2 separate regions of the Homo sapiens genome follow, and region 2 is linked to region 1. The links are contacts of gene promoters, found by promoter capture Hi-C in human tissues and cell types (Jung and others, 2019). All regions are on one chromosome and are shown on one strand. The core of a region is centred on a gene start or on the middle of the fragment in contact, and the rest is flanking DNA. Distances in the headings are between cores, read along the strand shown.

Region 1 (2,912 bases), core at 220-2,719:
ATACATAAGTATATTTAGATACTATGTATAGTATATATACTATACATAAGTATATTTAGATACTATGTATAGTATATATACTATACATAAGTATATTTAGATACTATGTATAGTATATATACTATACATAAGTATATTTAGATACTATATATACTATACGTAAGTATATTTAGATACTATATATAGTATATATACTATACATAAGTATATTTAGATATATATACTATAAATAAGTATATTTAGATACTATATATAGTATACATTAAGTATATTTAGATACTATATATAGTATATATACTATACATAAGTATATTTAGATACTATATATACTATACATAAGTATATTTAGATACTATATATACTATACATAAGTATATTTAGATACTATATATACTATACATAAGTATAGATACTATATATAGTATATATAGTATATATACTATACATAGTATATTTATGTACTATACATATAGTATATTTATATACTATATGTAAGTATATATGTAAGTATATTTATGTACTATATATAAGTATATATACCTAAGTATATTTAGGTACTATATATAAGTATGTATACCTAAGTATATTTCTGTACTATATATAAGTATATATACCTAAGTATATTTCTGTACTATATATAAGTATATATACGTAAGTATATTTCTGTACTATATATAAGTATATATACGTAAGTATATTTATGTACTATATATAAGTATACAGAAGTATATTTATGTACTATATATAAGTATATATACTATACATAAGTATATTTATGTACTATATATAAAGTATATAAGTACATTTTATATATATTTTTATATATAGTTATATATAATATATGAATAGTTATATATATATAAATCACAGTACATTTATTGATGGGCAGGGTCCGTAGTTTACTCACTTTCATTTTCCCAAAGCCATAAACACCTGAACTGTTTCCTGCTGTTTCTGTCCTGGTCACAGCCTTCCAGCGTAGGAGCCAGGCCACCTTCCTTTTTGCCACCTGTCCCAGCACCGCGACTGCGGGCAGCACAGGACCTGGGCGCTGCCCCATCACTTAGAGTGACTACCTGGGCCTGGGGATGCACCAAGTTTCTAGGAGCTTTTCGGAGTTGGGGACATAAAAAGGGGCAATTATTCCACAGAAGCCGCCACAGAGGTTAAGTGAGGTCGCGTGAGCGAACCGCTACTCCAATGCCGGAACTGTTCCCGGTCGCCCAGGGCAGCTCCGGATAACGCAGCAGGCAGGGGTCACCCAGAGGCTGCCTCCACCCTAGGCGCCGACCGCGCACGGCGCTCGCGCCCGCTCCTGAGGAGGGAAGGGGCCTCCCTGGAAACCCACAGCGCCCGCTGAACCCGGAGGGTGCGGTGAGGAAAATAACGGTCTCACCTTGAGTCGGAGGACGTCCGGCTAGCTCTGTGAACGGTGTTACCGCACTCGTCTCTTCCGGAGGTAGAGGGGCTACTCGCAACAGGAAGTTCCGCCCTTAAAAACTCCATTCCTGAGGGGGCGTGGTTGCTTTGCTGGGCCCCGCCCCGAGCTGCGCCCTGCGAGCCTCTGCCAGGCCGGGCCGGGTCCTGACCCGCGCTGGAGCATGGGATACTGCCTCTTCATTCTAGCTTCTGGTTCTTTTCTCCTGCTTGTCTTTTCATCTCTCAGTTTTTAAACATTACTTCTCTCTTTACTTTGCCTTTTTCTTCTTTCGTCCTCCATTCATTCACGGTTTCCCATTTAGCTTGCTTTCTTCTTTCTCCCATTTATTCTATAGTACTATTTTGACAAAACCCAGATTGCAGATATGATTCCGATTATGCAGCTTTTAGGTGCTAACCTAAAGCTGGTAAACCTATACTAGATTAAAAAAAAATAAACTGATAACCAGAACCAACTGCCCAATTCTTGATAATTTACTTACATACTATTTATTGAGGACTTACTATGCTTCAAGCAATTGTGTGGGGTTTTATTGTTTTGTTTTTTTGAGACGGAATTTCACTTTTGTCGCCCGGGCTGAAGTGCAATGGCGCGATCTCGGCTCACTGCAACGTCCGCCTCTTGGATTCAAGCGATTCTCATGCCTCAGCCTCCTGAGTAGCTGGGATTACAGACGCCTGCCACAACGCCCGGCTAATTTTTGTATCTTGTAGAGACGGGGTTTCACCATGTTGCTCAGGCTGGTCTCAAACTCCTGGACTCAAGTGATCCGCCTACCTCGGCCTCCCAAAGATTACAGGCATGAGCCACCACGCCTGGCCGAAATGTGTTTTTATATGCATTATTTTCCTTAAAGTTTTAACAGTTTCTTGAAAAAGGTATGATTAGCTTTGTCAGACAGATGAGGAAACTGAGGCTCAGAGTAGTTAAGTGATTTGTCCTCAGGTCACACAGCAAGAGCAGAGAGTGAAACACACTGAGTTCAAAGTTTTGGGGTTCAGAAAATGATACCCCACAATGAAGGCCTCAGAAGCAGCCTTAGAAGGAAAAATTTTCCTCTGACTCCTTTTGGTCTCCTGTCTCTGGTCCCACATTCTTCCCCAGACTAGTCATAGAAGCTAGAATTCCTCTTTCCCAAATCAGGTCCCAGAAATCAGGACCCCTTTTTTATAAAGCCAGCCATAAAACATAAAAATACTACTCTAGGCCAGGCAAGGTGGCTCACGCCTGTAATCCCACCACTTTGGGAGGCCAAGGCAGGCGGATCACGAGGTCAGGAGATCGAGACCGTCCTGGCTAACACGGTGAAGCCCCGTTTCTATTAAAAACACAAAAAAATTAGCCGGGTGTGGTGGCTGGCACCTGCAGTCCCAGCTACTCGGGAGGCTGAGGCAGGAGAATGGCATGAACCTGGGAGGTGGAGCTTCCAGTGAGTGGAGATCGCGCCACTGCACTCCAGCCTGGGCGACAG
Region 2 (2,912 bases), core at 162-2,661, 680 kb before region 1:
TAAGTGTGATTGTGGCCCTATGGAATACCCAGCCTCCATCTGTATCAGAGCGCGTGTCCTGCAGGTCCGTTCAGCACACCTGCCCCTCCATCTGTCAGCCTCATAGGCTTCACTTGCCGTCCTTCCCAGGCAAAGATGCCCTCCAGAATCCCTCACTCCCTGACGTTCTCCCAGTCCTGCCTTGTAACACATGGGGCAATTTGTTAAAGGGCTGAGGCCCAGATATAATAGAGTTGGAGAGGGGCCCAAGAATCTATATTTTAATTTTTAAATTTAAATTTTAATTATTTTTTGAGACGGAGTCTTGCTCTGTCGCCCAGGCTGGAGTGCAGTGGCGCGATCTCGACTCACAGCAACCTCTGCCACCCAGGTTCAAGCAATTCTCCCACCTTAGCCTCCCAAGTACCTGGGACTACAGGCATGTGCCACCATGCCTGGCTAATATTTGTATCTTTAGTACAGATGGGGTTTCATCATGTTGGCCAGGCTGGTCTCAAACTCCTGACCTCAAGTGATCTGCCTGCCTCAGCCTCCCAAAGTGCTGGGATTACAGGCATGAGCCACCATGCCTGGCCAAGAATCTATATTTTTATCTTGCATCCTAAGTGATTCCCAAGTAGGTAATTCACTAGAAAACCCTTTGAAGGACACAGGTCTCGTGCTTGTGAGTCCTGCACTGCCCAATCCTGAATCTGTTCTCTATCCCTTCTCTCTCTGTGTGGGCACTGAAGTGCCACCTCTTCCTGGTCCCTTTCCATCTCACTGGTTCTGTAGACAAGCCTCACTGTGTTCCTGGTTCATAGTGTGAAAGTAAAAATCTAATCTCATAGCGGGTCCCCAGGGGCAGAGGCAGTGAAACTCCAGAAGTCCACAGGGAGAACTCAGAAAACTGACCCTCCTTAGAAAGCCATGGAGCCAATGGGATTACAAGACCTCATGCACCAAAAAGAATGCAATTCTGAACATCTTTAAAATCACACTGTCTTCCTCGAGATTTTCCATTTTTTTTTTCTATTTGGAAATCATGAATAAAATGGAAGTTATGGGTTAAGGCTGTGTTTATGAAAAGTCTTGGAGTATAATGTGAAGAGTTTTACATTTTGAGTGTCACAGAGGTTTTCAAGTTGAAGGATCATATGTGGAACTCACATTGTATGCCACAGTATTAAGAACTTTTTTGGAGAGGCCTTAGAATATGGATTCATTAAGCTAACATTTTAAAGAGAGCCTTTCCCTGTGCTGAGTTCAAAGCCCTTTGTATGTAAGGCAGTCAACATGGTCACTCTACCCCCAATTTCCATTTTCTTTGGAAAGTAGAGACCAAGGAAAGTCTTCAGGTTGTACAATGAGAACAAATATCACAGTATGGCTCTGACAGCCCTGCCCCCTTCACTTCTCTATGCTACGTTTTCACTCTTTTTCTGGAAAGGGTATTTTAAAGGCATTCAACAGAGAGGCAGAGAGAGAGAGAGTAGCCTATGATACAGCGGCAAGGTTTGCAGGTAGGGACAGGCATATATTAGAGACATGTTGTGGGAAGTGCGGGAAAAAGGTGCCAACAACATCTTCTAGAAATGTGGAAGTTATTTGATTTTAAGTTAATTTATCATAAAAGAAACATGGATCTCATGGAGTACAAGGTTCTATTAAGAACTTAAAAAATAGGCCAGGCATGGTGGCTCACGCCTATAATCCCAGCACTTTGGGAGGCTGAGGTGTGTGGATTACCTGAGGTCAGGGGTTCGAGACCAGCCTGGCCAACACGGTGAAACCCCGTCTCTACTAAAAATACAAAAATACAAAAAAAAAAAAAAAAAATAGTAGACGGGTGTGGTGGCGGGCACGTGTAATCCCAGCTATTCAGGAGGCTGGGGCAGGAGAATTGTTTGAAGCCAGAAGGTGGAGGTTGCAGTGAGCTGAGATCGTGCCACTGCATCCCAGCCTGGGTGACAGAGCAAGACTCTGTCTCAAAAAAAAAAAAAAAAAAAAAAAAGAACTTAAAAAATAAAACACGGGAGCTTGAAGAATGACACATGGAGTCAGGAATGTGAGTTCACACTTCTCTGCCACTGAGGCTTTGAGGAGGTCTGGCTGTACTAAGAGCATAGACTATATTTCTGTGAGTGGCACCTCCTAGAGGCATGAGGTTTGCACTAAATAGCCGTGGCAGTGGCCCTGCCAATGCTTACTGTGAGAAATATAACAGTGGAATCTGGTCCGGGGGAATCACTGTGTGCTTATTTCTCATGCATCTATTACAGGAAAACTTCAAGAAAAATATATTTACAAAACAGGACAAGAAGATGTGTTTTTAGGACAAAAAGAAAACTCATCTAGGAAAATCAAGGTAGCCACTGACATCTAGTAATTGCTATTGGGAAAAGAAGTTAGTATGTATCATTTTGTCCATCGGATTAAATAATATAAGCTATGTGGTTTCATTCTAGTTCTTTTTGTAAGCAATTATTTCTAACAGTTACGTGATTTCTAGACACAAATTGTAAAACAATATGCTATTATCCCATAAACAAGAATAATTCAGTCTTTTTCACATCACATATTTTAGACCTTTCTCCAAACTCTTCAAAATTCTACTTCATTATACTTAATAAATTGCCATGTTATAGTGTTTCAGGAATAAACAAACTTTAGGGGCAACTGGCTCACTAGTAGTCACTGGTAACACTCTGCTTCCCTTTACGAAGAACATAATTAAGAACAATGTAAGGTGTTCTGCAGTAGCCACTTATCTATCATACGTTTTTGATTCTGTAGCCAGGATCCATCTAAGACACCAAGATGTATGACTACAGTATAGTTCTCAAACTATTAATACTCTCCCAAAGTATAATACTACATATAATATATATAATACTACATATTATATACTAATATATAATATATATAATATA

The links. The method cuts DNA at HindIII sites, captures the fragments that hold promoters and counts their contacts. A contact is called where the count stands out against the background at its distance.
Region 2: a fragment that was not itself captured here is called in contact with the fragment with the promoter of IMPA1 in region 1 in 1 of the 25 tissues and cell types used here (hippocampus).

The regions. Positions count from the first base shown.
Region 1 is chr8:81,684,856-81,687,767 of GRCh38, forward strand. It overlaps IMPA1 (inositol monophosphatase 1), which reads right to left and starts at 1,470. Exons shown (of 9, transcript NM_005536.4): 1 at 1,397-1,470. RefSeq lists an enhancer at 1,216-1,716. The HindIII fragment of the contact is 9,069 bases long and covers 1-2,912 here.
Region 2 is chr8:81,005,668-81,008,579 of GRCh38, forward strand. The region is part of intron 3 of PAG1 (phosphoprotein membrane anchor with glycosphingolipid microdomains 1); the gene reads right to left. It overlaps LOC124901967 (a long non-coding RNA gene), which reads right to left. Exons shown (of 2, transcript XR_007060979.1): 2 at 1-2,912. Among named protein-coding and RNA genes, the nearest start is that of PAG1, 100 kb to the right of the region's middle. The HindIII fragment of the contact is 5,670 bases long and covers 1-2,912 here.